Regions from separate parts of the Homo sapiens genome. Here regions 1 and 3 are each linked to region 2. Evidence: promoter capture Hi-C in human tissues and cell types (Jung and others, 2019). All regions are on one chromosome and are shown on one strand. The core of a region is centred on a gene start or on the middle of the fragment in contact, and the rest is flanking DNA. Distances in the headings are between cores, read along the strand shown. Region 1 holds the start of LRRC59 (leucine rich repeat containing 59). Region 2 holds the start of SGCA (sarcoglycan alpha). Region 3 holds the start of MRPL27 (mitochondrial ribosomal protein L27).

Region 1 (4,813 bases), core at 1,121-3,620, 230 kb after region 2:
GTCAACCATGATCTAAGGAAGAATGCAAAGAGAAGGGATGTGGCTGTACAACCTCCAAGAAGGTAAACCTTAGGCGAGGCACAGGGACTCACACCTGTAGTCTCATAGTCTCAGCTACTCAGAAAGCTGAGACAGGAGGATCGCTTGAGCCCAGGAGTTCAGGAGTTTGAGGCCGGCCTGCACAACACAGTGAGACCCCATCTCAAAAAAAAAAAAAAAGAAAGGAAGGCAGGCAGGCAGGCAGGCAAGCAAAATTTAGATTCTTAGACATTATTCCTAGCACTTTAAAAATAAATATTACCCAGCGTCCCTCTTATTAGGTTTCAGGGCAGGGACAGTGTCTAATAAAGCTTTGCAATTTCCATATTCCCCAGTTCAGGCCCTTCCTCAGAACAGGTACTCAATATCCATACATGTTGCCTGAATCATGACTGATCGAGTAAGTAGCGGAGTGAATGACAGAGTGAAAAAACAAGGCCCTGCCGGGTGCGGTGGCTCACGCCTGTAATCCCACCACTTTGGGAGGCTGAGGCAGGCAATCACCTGAAGTCAGGAGTTCGAGACCAGCCTGACCAACACGGAGAAACCCTGTCTCTACTAAAAATAGAAAATTAGCCAGGCATGGTGGCACACGCTTGTAATCCCAGCTACTCGGGAGGCTGAGGCAGGAGAATCGCTTGAACCCGGGAGGCAGAGGTTTCAGTGAGCCGAGATCACTCCTGGGCAACAACAGCAAAACTCCATCATCCAAAAAAAAAAAAGGCCCTCACAGCCCATCTCTATTTTCCCATGGTGTCCAGGCTGGACAAGCTCAGCAAAACTTTCTCCCTAAGGTTAATGCTGGACTGTTCAGATGCCTGGAGTATATGGTTTCAGAGAGCAGTCCTAGGGCAGGGTGAAATAAGGCTGGCCATCTATCTTCCTGGGGTAGAAAAGGAGGCATATATTCAGTTAAGGATCCTCTGGCAACCTGCACTTTCTGTCACAAAGTCGTAAAAGTGAAGTTTGACCACCTAAAAAAGTTTTAAATACTACAGCGGGAAAAACACAACAACAGCTACAAGTATCAGTATTTGCTCCTTCCAAGCATTTTCCATTACAATGGTATTTAACCTCCCAATAAGCGTATGAGATGGAAACTATTATCACCATTGTATAGATGAGGAGATCTAGGCATAAAGGCTAACTAGCTTGCCAAGGGCACTCGGCTATTAAGCAATGGAGCTGGGAGGAGCTAGGAACCCGGTTCTAACCACTGTAATACCCGTCCACGGTGGAAGAAAGACTGGGCCCAGCGCCCAAGGCAAATGTAATTTATCAACGGCAGAAAGCAAAGTGTGGGTCACCCAAAGTGAGTCTAGTAGGGCGTTGGCGCGGGTGGGAGGGGGAACGGAGTGGGAAAAGGAGGGATGTGGGAACTAGCTCCACGCTGACAAAACTAGATGCCTGCTATCTCTCTGGAGCTGTAAGCTTCAGTTTACAGGGGAAAGGTTGGGGGAGAGAGGGGCGAAAGGGACTCCCGCCAGTTTCAGCGGAATTCAGATGACAGTTTACCAGCCAAGCTGGGGGGAGACTTTACTTTCTTCGAGTTAGGCTGCCTCAGGGCTCGGGCAGCCAGCTGGAATTGCCAGCTTCCTAGAAGAGCCAGGTTCTGGGCCACACCCAGGTCTACCAGGAGGCCTACTCCCCTGGAACAAGTCACTCATTCATTCTCGAATACATCCAGTAACTGCTCCGTGTGCTCCTACTCAGAGTCGGGCACGGAGGTGGGCGCTGTGAAAGCCCCGCAAAGGTGACAGATTCGCTTCTTAGCCTGTAAAAAGCCTAGGGCCAGAGAAGCAGATCTTCCCTATGTTCTGGAACTGCGCCAAAGTGACACGTGTACATCCCGGGAAGAACCTTGGGCTGGACGCGGCCTCCTAGGGGACTTAGTCCCACCACCCCGCTTCTTTTTAAAGAAAAGGAAACTGATGCTTTTAGAGAAGAGGAAAGTAAGTGGCCCACGTAGGGGCCAGCGCCCGGCGAAGGTGGGCGCCTGGGCCTCGCGGGACGATACTGACCAGCTCCTTCACCGGGACCTCATTCAGGTCGCTGAGGCTCAGGTCCAGTTCGTTGCCGTCCAGCTTGTCGCGGAGGTTCCCGCCCTTGCTACCGGCCTTGGTCATGGTAACGCCGGCTGAGCGGGCCCCGGCTCCGGGGTTCCGGCGGGTGAAAGGAGCTGAAATGTCGCTTGTCAGTTCAGCGGCCCCCCACCCAAACGACGACGCCTGAGCCCTCCGTCGCCGCCGATGCGAGACCGCCTCCGCCCGCTGGCCGCACTCCGAGCCTCGCGCCTAGCTCCCACCGGTGCCGCGACGACGACCACTTCCGTGTCCACGTCACCTTCCGCGACCACTGAGATGGGCTGGGCCAGAGCGGCCCGAGCGTGTGCGGGCACGCCCCCTGGTGCCCAGGGTGATGCACTGCACGTCGCCGCCGCCGGAGGGGTGGGGTTGGAGGCTGCGAGCTCGGTTCACGTTCACCCGTGGCCCGCGGGCATTATTGCTGGCAGTGCCACGAGGCGAAAGGGCACGGACTGGGCGCCAGAAGACTGGGTTGACATCCAATACTGACCTCATCAGATCACCCCAATCCCCCTGATTAGGAGCAGAAGCTGGGTGTCCTCTAAAACTGCTCCCTGTCCTCTACTTAACCCCCGAATAACCATCATGGGGAAAACTCTTCTTCCTGAATTTCTCCTCTCTCCTCCCCACTCACTGCCTCAGTGCTTGTCTCTGTCCTTCCATCCACTTTCACCCAGCTCCCCGGTGATCTTTCTAAAAATCTGGCCAAGTCTCTCCCCTACGTAAAACCCTTCAAACTTGCAGCTACCTCTAGGATACGGACCACTTTCCTTTGGAAGCTGGGTCCTGCCTGCTTTCGCAGCTTCCTCACACGCTCCAGTCCCTGCCTGGCCTAGATGCTGTGTAGATTTCCAGGAGGTGGCTCCCACGTCTGGCCCTCCCCAGCGATGGCCCTCCCTCCCCCCCACTCACCTCTGTCTAGCTAATTCCTTAGTCCTTCAGGAAATCTCCCCTGAACACCGTGAATGCCAGACTGAGTTAGCGCCCCCCCCAACCAACTTAGGTCCCTGTTTGCTACTTTATCATCAGAGACAGTAGAGCTTGATGGCCAAGTGGGACCTCTGGCACTAATACCTATCCACTGGGTATTCATCCTGGCTCTGCCACTTGCTACTTATAAAACCGTAGACAATCACCAGGCTTCAGTCTTATCTATGAATCAATCTATGAGACATGTAGCTAACAGAGGTTGGGGAGAACTGAAGGAGTAAAACACACCAAGAGCTTACAGCAGTCACTGGCACTTAGTAAGTACCCAATAAATATTAGCTACAATTCATGATCCACCTTGTATTATACTCATCTTTATGTGTCTGTCCTTCATTCTGGACTGTGAGGACAGGGATTTTTGTCTTAATCATCTTCGTATGCCCAGAGTTGGCATACCCTGATGCAGGGTAGCTACTCATTCAGATGTCTGTTGAATAAATGAATAGATGGATGGATGAATGAATGAATGAATGAAGGAAGGAAGCACTTTACCCACTCCAAACCTCAGTTTACTCATTTTGAAATAGGGATATTAAAGCTTATCTCAGAGGGGCCGAGCAGGATAGCTCACACCTGTAATCCCAATACTTGGGAGGCCAAGATGAGAGGATTATTTGAGGCTAGGAGTTCAAAACCAGTCTGGGCAACATAGCAAGACCCCATCTCTAAAAAAATAAAAAATAAAAAATCTTGTCTCAGAGGGAAACTATGAACACCAAATAAAGTAAGTGCAATTGTTACGGGGGGTGGGTGGCAGGGGTCCTTGTTCTTAGAACTCCCAAGATGGTGGCGGGCCACTTCCAAGATGGCGGCAAGCCTCTTGTTCTCTGACCTGGGTTTCTTGGCCTCACGCATTCCAAGGAATGGAATCTTGGGCCATGCAATGAGTGTTATAGCTCTATTCAGCTCAATTAGGACAAATCCAGGCACTTAGCCACGCAGGAACAATGGCAAGCCTTTAGCCTGATCCAGAGCAGCAATGGGCGCCTCACTGGATCGGGAGCCCAGCAGACACCCTGCCAGATCCAGAGGGGTGGAAGTCAGCAGCGGGTCTGCGACAGCAGCAAACAGCAGTAGTGGACGGTAAGGAAAAGCTCAGCTCAAGCCGTAACAAACACGGACCAGAAAAGTGTGCAGTTGCAAGATTTAATAGAGTGAAAACAGAGCTCCCATAAAATGGCAGGGGACCCAAAGGGGGTTGCTGTTGCCGGCTCGAATGCCTGGGTTTATATCCCGATCATTGTCCCTCCTCCTGTGCTCTCAGGCGATAGATGATTGGCTATTTCTTTACCTCCTGTTTTTGCTTAATTAGCATTTCAGTGAGCTCTCTTTACTACCTGATTGATCAGGTGCGAGCTAAGTTGCAAGCCCCATGTTTAAAGGTGGATGCGGTCACCTTCCCAGCTAGGCTTAGGGATTCTTAGTTGGCTTAGGAAATCCAGCTAGTCCTGTCTCTCAGTGCCCCCCTCAACAGGAAAACCCAAGTGCTGTTGGGGAGGTTGGCCGATGACCGCTCTAACTGCTTCCTGCTAAATTGGGGCATAGTAGGGGTTGTGCAGTTGAGATTTCCTCGGGAGGGTTGCTTTTGATGTCACCAACATCACAGCATGGGCTAGCAGACTGGTCCAGGGGTCCACGGTAGATCTTAGTCATGGACCGCATCTGGGGCTCCATTTAAAGAACCATTTGTAGTTTTACAG
Region 2 (4,223 bases), core at 1,708-4,207:
GAAGGAAAGTATGAAGGAAGGAAGGAAGGAAGGGAGGAAGGAAAAAAGAGAGAGAAAGGATGTATGGGAACCTATAGATTTGAAGAAATTTAAAAGAGCCTTGGCCAGGCACAGTGGCTCACGCCCGTAATCTCAGCACTTTGTGAGGCCAAGGTGGGTGGATCACTTGAGGTCAGGAGTTTGAGACCAGCCTGGCCAACATGGTGAAACCCCTGGGCATGGTGGCACGTGCCTGTAGGCTGAGGCAGGAGAATTGCTTGAATCTGGGAGGTGGAGGTGGCAGTGAGCCGAGATCATGGCACTGCACTCCAACCCGGGTGACAGAGCGAGACTCTGTCTCAAAAAAAAAAAAAAAAAAAGCCCTATAAATCATCAATCAGTTGCAATGTGTGTATCTTCTTTGTATCTTGAGTCAAACAAATACACTGTAAAAATATGTATGTTTATGAGAAATTGGTAATTTGAACACTAGAAGTTTGATATTAAGGAATTTTATTGATGATGTTAATAGCTGAACGTGTTATGTGATTATGTTAAAAAGAGTCATTATCATTTAAAGATACACACTGAAATATTGATGGATGAAATTAATCAGGAGGGGTACAGATGAAACTAGACTGGCCATGAGTTGATAATTGTTGAAGCCAGGTGACAGATACACGGGGGCTTATTATAGTATGCTGCAAATTTTTCAAACTAAGAAGTTTAAAGACCCTGTGACCTCCCTTCCCACCCCTAGGCCCAATAGACAGAAGGTGCTGTGTGTTACAAGCAGCAGGTTGCAATCCAGACAGCTCTGAGTGGGAAGGTCCTCTGATGGCTGAGGGGCCTGAGAAGGGTTTCTGGGGACTTTCTGGCTTGTGGGACAGTCCCTGGCTCCCTTGAATTGGGCAGGGAGGATCTGATGGGGAAGTAGCTGCAGCTTTTCATTAAGGAAGGCTGGCCTCTGTGGGCCTGGTGACACTGGGGCCAGGCACTGCTACCTTAAGACAGCTGAGTGGGTGGCTCCAAAAATAGCCAGGGGGACGGCAGGGGGCGGGGAGTCACATGGAGAAGCTCAGGGGTGAGGCTGGGCAGGTGCCCAGGGGGTTGGCACTTCTGCCTGCTCCCCCAGAACCCTTGGGCTCTTCCTCTGCCTCCAGAACCTTTCTTCCTCCCTCCCTCTGTCTCTGAGAAGACAGAGAGATGGCCAGGTGATGCTGGGACAAATACTGCCTTGCCTGAGGGGACGCTGACTCTGGAATTTGGTGGCTCTCCAGGGATGAGCGGGTCAGTCAGGTGGAGAGAGAGAGAGGAAGGGACAAGGACTGCGTAACCTGCCTACCAGTCACCCCATCTGCAGGCCAACACCTGTGCCCTTAGGCTGGACCCAAGTGATCCTTGCCTGGGGTATTTTGTTGTCCTTTTGAGGCCCTGGAGGAGAGGTCACACAGGCACCAAGGATTTGGGAACCCTGGCAGCCATAGGTCCCCGCCCCCTTCTCAGGGCACCTGGGGAGAGTGCCCCTGTGCCTGCCCTAAGTGAGAGACCTGGGGAGAGGACACCGCGCCCCATCGCCCCTGGACTGAGATCCTTTGGCAGAGGCAAGAAGGAAGGGGAAGCAGGGCCGGGCAAGTACATCAGCAGCACAGTCATCGACTGAGCCAGGCACTGGGCTAAGCCGTCCACATGCATTCTACTCATCAGCAATGTGGCCTTGGGGAAGGTATACACCCCTGTGCCTCAGTTTTATCATCTGTTAAATGGGCACAGTAATAATACCTGCCTCATGGAACTGCTGAGGAGATGGAATGAGGTAATATAGGTAGATATATGTAAGATTCTCAGCACAGTAGCTGGCAGCGCTAGCTGGTATTACCCACTGGCAGGTGACCTCCATGTGGGCAGAGGTTTGCTTATCTTTGCAATTTCAATGTCTGATACATAGCAGGTGTTTCATAAATATGCGCTGCATTCATTACTTTGTGGAGTCCTCACAATGATGCCAAGAGGCAAGCACTATTCTTGCCAGTTTATAGTTGTGGAAATGGGCTAGAGGGCAAATGGTGCACTCAAGGCCTCATCCCCAGCAAGTGGCCAAGGTGGCCCACCTCCAGGCCTCCAAGTCTATGCGCCGAATGAACCCTGACTCCATGGGCCAGAGAGGGTGCCTCCTCCGCTCACCTGTCTCTAGCTGGCTGGTCCTGTCCAGGGCTTGCTAGACCTCCACGCTGAAGTGCTTGGACTGGGGATAAAGGCTGGGTGGATGGCACCTACGTTTGCTGTTAAGGAAGCTGCCGCCAGCCAGCTACACCTACTAGTTACCAGGCCCTGTGCCAGGCCCAAGGATACAAACGTGACAAGATCCTAGTCTTCGAGGAGCTTGGAGCAGTCTGTGTGATTGTGTTGTGCCCAGGAAAGCACGCAGGGGCTAAGGGGACACCCAGCTTGGCCTAGCAGAAGAAGGGAGGTCAGAAAGGCTTCAGAGAGGAGAGGACATCTGTGCAGAGTCTGGAAAGGTGACTGGAAGGTTGCTGCTTGAATGAAGGTGGGAAGGGAACTGCAGGCAGAGGCAATAGCCTGGACGACGGCTTGGAGACTTGAGAGAGTCTGCCAAGCTAGGCAGGAGCGGAGTGAGGCTGAGCAGGGGCCTGGGGTTGGAAGGGTAGGGGCAGAGGATGGGATTCTAGACCAGCTGACCAGGTTCAGGACAGGCCAGAAAGCCACCAACTGGGGATGAGCTGGGAACTCAGGGGCCATGAGAACCATTAGAGTTTTAAGGGAGGATGGAGGTGGCCTGGTTGGTGGTTTAAAAAACACTGTGGCCACTGGAGGGGACGGTTGGAGGGACAATGAGTGCGAGGAGGGTGTCTATCCCAGATTTGGTGCATGCTCCAGGCGGGGAGGGGAGGCTGACGCTGGGACCCAGCTGCCCCGAGCCACCTCCCTCCTTCCCTCCTCTCCTCCCTGCCCCCTGTCTCTGTCACTCACCGGGCGGGCCAGGCCGGGCAGCCATGGCTGAGACACTCTTCTGGACTCCTCTCCTCGTGGGCAAGTTGGGGCCTTGTTCAGCGGGGAGGCCCAGGATGAGGGGGCAGGATTTAGGGGTGGTAAGACGGAGGTGTGGAGGGCCCACAGAAGAGGGATCTGGGTTGGGTGAGGCAGGCGCCAGAAGGGCTTTGGGGTGTTAATGCCATGGCCAGCTGGGGATCCAGGGAATGGGGCTGGGAGCTGGGCTCTGGGATGAAGGGGCTGGGAGCTCTGAGGGCTGGAGGTGTCCTAGGGCCCGGGTGGGTCTGACAGCACAGGCCCAAAGGGTCGTGGGCCCTTTAATGAGCTGGCTGGGCCGCAGCTTCTAAGCCCAGGCTAAATTTGGCCCTGGGAGGGAGGGTGGAGCTGGCGGCCAGGTCCTCTGCTCCTCTCTTGGACTTAGGATTCCTTTTGCTCAGCTCCTACTGGCCTCTAGGGCAGGCCTTCTTCTTCCCTGTATTTTAGGGGAGGAAGGTGGGGGTCTCCAGGCCCAGAATGGCTACCCTTCCTCCTCTGTAGGCTCCTGGCCCCGTCTTCCTCTCCTCTGGGCTCTTGGGCATTTAGCATGGGATTCTTTTCCCAGTGCCTTTCACACATACACACCCTCACACACACACACACCCACACACACCCTCACACACACCCTCACGGCACCCTCACACACACACCCTCACACACACCCTCACACACCCTCACACACCCTCACACACACACCCTCACACACCCTCACACACCCTCACACACACACCCTCACACACACCGTCACACACACACCCCACACACCGTCACACACACCCCCCACACACACCCCCACATACCCCCACATACCCCCACACACCCCCCGCAAACACACACCCCCCACACACACCTTCACACACACACACCCTCACACACACCCTCTCACACACACTCACTTGCACACACACCCTCACACACATCCTCACAGACCCTCACACATACCTTCACACACACACCCCCCCACATCCCCTCACACACACACACACCCTCACACACACACTTCCCAGTCAAACATCAGTCCCTGCCCACTGCACCATTAATAGGGGCCTAAAACAAGGAATGGAAAGGTTGTGGGAGAGGTTCTCCCTCGAATCCCGAAACCCAGACGATTAAAATGTCTAGCCCAGCAGGGCTTGCTCCCCCATCCCCACCCCAATCCCTTCCTGGGAGGCAGCAAAGGAAGCGCTTCTCTCGGT
Region 3 (4,389 bases), core at 267-2,766, 210 kb after region 2:
GGGTTTCTGACATTTCCATGACACCAGAGACTAGCTGGGGCAAAGGACCAGAGATAAGGACTCAGAAAGACAACATGTTAAAACATGCCCGGCGCCAGGATCTACCTACCTTTAAACATCTATTCATTCATTTACATACTTACTAAGCTCAGGAGCTGGGCTTTTACTTTACTTACATTATCTCACTCACAAATCTTTGCTCTTCACCCTACTCCCCATCCTCCTCCTCAAAGTAAATGGTACCACCATTCATCCAGTTGCTTAGGCAGAAACCAGAGTCATTGCAGATTCCTTCTCTTTGCTGTCCTCACATATTGTTCACCAGCAAGCTCTGTGGATGCTAACTCCAAAACAGATCTCAAATTCATCCGTTTTCCTCCAAGTTCACTGCCACCACAAACATCTTGGCTAAATCATCTCTCCTCAGGGCTATTACGACTTTCCATTTGATTTCCTCATTTCCACTCCTATCCCCTTTAAATTTACATAAGAGCAATAGTTTGCTTCTCAAAATGTAAAACTGGCTCAAGTCACTCTCCTGTCCCTCACTCTACACAGGTCTAGGTCTCCTGTCATTCTTTTTTTTTTGGGGGGGGGGGATAGGGCCCCATTCTGTCACCCAGGCTGGAGTGCAGTGGTATGAACATAGCTCACTGCAACCTCGACCTCCCGAGCTCAGGTGATCCTCCCACCTCAGCCTCCTGAGTATCTGAGACCACAGGCAAGCGCCACTACACCCAGCTAATTTTTGTATTTTTTGTAGAGATGGGGTTTTGCCATGTTGCCCAGTCGGTCTTGAACTCCTGGGCTCAAGCGATCCGCCCACCTAGGCCTCCCAAAGTGTTGGGACTACAGGCGTGAGCCATCACGCCCCGCCTGTCATTCTTTAGGTTTTAAATGTTATCTCCTCAGAAGCCTTCCTTCACCGTCCAATCTAAAAAAAGACACACACACAGACACACATTATCCTTCTTCACAGCACTTGCCAGTCTACATCTACTTTATATGTTCATTTATTGCCTTATGCACCAGAGAGAACCGTTCGGGGGCTAGAAGCCAAGTCTTCACGTTTTCTGCTGATTTTCCGAACACCTACCGCCGTGTCTAGCACAAAGTAAGACCTCAATCTGCTGAATCAATAGATTAATTTTTTCAACCCCAATATGCCAATGTTACTAATACTTCTACAGAGAAAGGACCCACCCAAATCCCCAACCGCCAAGGAACCCGTCCGTGCTGCTGAGGCAGGAGAAAGACAAGTGCTCTTCAAACGCCCTCACTCACGGCTCCACCCAGGATGTGTCACGTGACCAGCGACACCGTCCCTCAAACCTGGAGTACCCCACACACTTCCCCTCGCATCCAAGGTCCTCCGCGGGGATCAGTGTCACCTCCTTCCCTCCCTGCTGGAGCTCCACTCTGCCTCCCCGCCTCACCCCGCTCTGACTACTGCGTCCCATTACCGGCTGTCCGGGTCCTCAGCGCCAACACCACCGACGCCATGCTTTCGATCACTCACTTCCGGTCTCGAAAAGTTTCTACTTCCGCTATCAGGAGATCTACTTCCGGGCCCTGCGTGGCAGTTGAAAGAGTGGCGGGAGAAGTTGCAGGTGAGCGTCCCCGGTCGCAGGCCTGCGGATTGGGCAGGGCTTCCCTCCTGAACACCGCTCTGCAGAATCTTGGTGGCTAAGGTGTCCAGGAGCCTCTGCAGCGGACCGCCAGCCTGAGAGGCGCAGAGCTTGTCGGGCAGGGGCCCGCTTGTCCCACTCCCCTGATTTGCAGATGTCAACGGAGGCCCAGCGAAGGGTCAGAGATGAGGCCCCCTCCCTAGTCATTCAACTTACTCTACTTAGCCAGCTGTGTGCCAGATGCTGTACTAAGCGCGGTGGATGCATTATTTTATTTAATTCTCACTACCTTATAAAATGGGTGCTGTTACCATCCCTGTTTTACTAAGGAAGAAACTGAGGCCTAGGCAGGTTACATGTCTCCTTCTGGGTCATACCTACAGTGTTAGTAAATGTTCAAGAAATGATTAGCTTTGCATATGACCCAGCAATTCTACTCCTAGGTATATACACGAAAGGGATTTGAAAACATACCCCCACAAAAACTTGTATGTCAGTGTTCATAGCAGCATTATTCATAACAGGCAAAAAAAGGAAACAAATTAAATGTCCAAGTGATGAATGGATAAACAAAATGTAGCATATCCATACAGTGGAATATTATTCAGTCATGAAAAGCAATTAACTACTGATACAGGCTACATCATAGATAAACCTTGAAAACAAGCTGAGTGAAAAAAGTCAATCACAAAAGGCCACATAGTGTATGATTCTATTTATATGAAATATCCAGAATAGGCAAATGCATAGAGACAGATTTATGGTTGCCAGGAGCTGGGGAGGGAGGGAAAGGACAGTGACGGCTTAATGGCTGCAGGAATTCTTTTTGAGGTGATAAAATAGTGATGATGGTTGCACAACATTGTGAATATACTAAAATCTACTGAATGTACACTTTTAAAAGGATATTATGCTGTGCAAATTATATCTCTATTTTTATTTTTATTTTATTTTTCTTTTGAAGCAGGGTCTCACTCTGTCACCCGGGCTGGAGTGCAGTCGTACAATCACAGCTCACTGCAGCCTTGACCTCCCAGGCTCAAGCAATCCTCCCACCTCAGCCTCCTGAGTATCTGGGACTACAGGTGTGAGCCACCATACCCAGCTAATTTTTGTATTTTTTTGTAGAGACGAGTTCTCACTATGTTGCCCAGGCTGTTCTCGAACTCCTGGGCTCAAGTGATCCTTCTGCTTTGGCCTCCCAAAGTGCTGGGATTATACGCATGAGCTACCATGCCCAGCCTATATCTCAATTTTTAAAAAGAACAGTTTTTGGCCAGGTGCAGTGGTTCACACCTGTAATCTCAGCACTTTGGGAGGCCAAGGCGGGCGGATCACTTGAGGTCAGGAGTTCAAGACTAGCCTGGCGAACATGATGAAAACGCATCTCTACTAAAAATACAAAAATTAGCCAGGTGTGGTGGTGGGGCGCCTGTAATCCCAGCTAGGCTGAGGCAGGAGAATCACTTGAACCTGGGAGTGAGGTTGCAGTGAGCCAAGATTGTGCCACTGCACTCCAACGTGGGTGCCAGAGTGAGACTCCATCTCAAAAAAAAAAAAGAAGAACTTTTGACATCTCCATTTCAAACGTGAAGATAAACAAGGGGTTGGAGGTGTTAAATCTTGTTACCACCTCCCCCCATTAAAATTTTGTAATGGTAACTCTACTTTGTTTATACTTCAGCTTGACCTGGAAAGAATTTGAGGAGGATTCCTGTTAGATTACCAGGAGTTAGAGTTCCAGATTGAATGTGTTGGGGCCATGTCATATTTCTCTGTTTCTGTATTCTCTATATCTTATATTTATGTCATAAAGCCTGGCTATGGAACACAGCTAGTGGACTGAATTGAATGCTCCAGTCTGTGTCATATGTCTCTTTTCCTTTTAGGGAATTATTTGATAGCACATACTGATGGCTCTAAAGAAGTCATCACCCTCACTGGATTCTGGTGATAGTGACTCTGAGGAGTTGCCAACATTTGCCTTTCTGAAGAAGGAACCATCTTCAACAAAGAGGAGACAGCCTGAAAGGGAAGAGAAGATTGTAGTGGTTGACATCTCAGATTGTGAAGCCTCCTGTCCTCCAGCACCAGAGTTATTTTCACCACCTGTCCCAGAAATAGCTGAAACTGTCACACAAACACAGCCAGTCAGGTTGCTAAGCAGTGAAAGTGAAGATGAAGAAGAATTTATTCCTCTGGCTCAAAGGCTTACATGTAAGTTTCTGACCCACAAGCAACTGAGCCCTGAGGACTCTAGCTCCCCAGTTAAAAGTGTTTTGGATCATCAAAATAATGAAGGTGCATCATGTGACTGGAAAAAGCCCTTTCCAAAGATCCCTGAAGTTCCCCTCCATGATACCCCAGAGAGGAGTGCAGCAGATAACAAGGACCTGATCTTAGATCCATGCTGTCAGCTTCCAGCCTACCTGTCTACCTGCCCTGGCCAGAGCAGCAGCTTGGCAGTAACCAAAACAAATTCTGACATCCTTCCACCCCAGAAGAAAACCAAGCCGAGTCAGAAGGTCCAGGGAAGAGGCTCACACGGATGCCGGCAGCAGAGACAAGCAAGGCAGAAGGAAAGCACCCTGAGAAGACAGGAAAGAAAGAATGCAGCACTGGTTACCAGGATGAAAGCCCAGAGGCCAGAGGAATGCTTAAAACACATCATTGTAGTGCTGGATCCAGGTCCTCACATGTGTCTTTGTCCTGTGCTGAGTTATCTGCGTTCTGGACCCCCCACTGACAGTCCCTTTTCCAT

Evidence for each region. The method cuts DNA at HindIII sites, captures the fragments that hold promoters and counts their contacts. A contact is called where the count stands out against the background at its distance.
Region 1: a contact is called between the fragment with the promoter of LRRC59 here and the fragment with the promoter of SGCA in region 2, in 1 of the 25 tissues and cell types used here (mesenchymal stem cells).
Region 3: the fragment with the promoter of MRPL27 here is called in contact with the fragment with the promoter of SGCA in region 2 in 2 of the 25 tissues and cell types used here (IMR-90 fibroblasts and lymphoblastoid cells).

The regions. Positions count from the first base shown.
Region 1 is chr17:50,395,153-50,399,965 of GRCh38, forward strand. LRRC59 (leucine rich repeat containing 59) reads right to left here and starts at 2,371. Exons shown (of 7, transcript NM_018509.4): 1 at 2,061-2,371. The coding sequence starts at 2,165. LRRC59-AS1 (LRRC59 antisense RNA 1) reads left to right here. Exons shown (of 2, transcript NR_199069.1): 2 at 2,064-3,405. RefSeq lists a silencer at 2,348-2,417. The HindIII fragment of the contact is 9,986 bases long and covers 911-4,813 here.
Region 2 is chr17:50,163,048-50,167,270 of GRCh38, forward strand. It overlaps SGCA (sarcoglycan alpha), which reads left to right and starts at 2,958. Exons shown (of 10, transcript NM_000023.4): 1 at 2,958-3,030. The coding sequence starts at 2,994. It overlaps LOC105371818 (a long non-coding RNA gene), which reads right to left and starts at 3,310. Exons shown (of 4, transcript XR_934833.3): 1 at 2,971-3,310; 2 at 2,164-2,432. RefSeq lists an enhancer at 552-1,052. The HindIII fragment of the contact is 20,868 bases long and covers 1-4,223 here.
Region 3 is chr17:50,371,668-50,376,056 of GRCh38, forward strand. It overlaps MRPL27 (mitochondrial ribosomal protein L27), which reads right to left and starts at 1,517. Exons shown (of 4, transcript NM_016504.3): 1 at 1,464-1,517. The coding sequence starts at 1,503. It overlaps EME1 (essential meiotic structure-specific endonuclease 1), which reads left to right and starts at 1,562. Exons shown (of 9, transcript NM_152463.4): 1 at 1,562-1,610; 2 at 3,518-4,316. The coding sequence starts at 3,542. RefSeq lists enhancers at 1,051-1,520, 1,661-1,880. The HindIII fragment of the contact is 32,602 bases long and covers 1-4,389 here.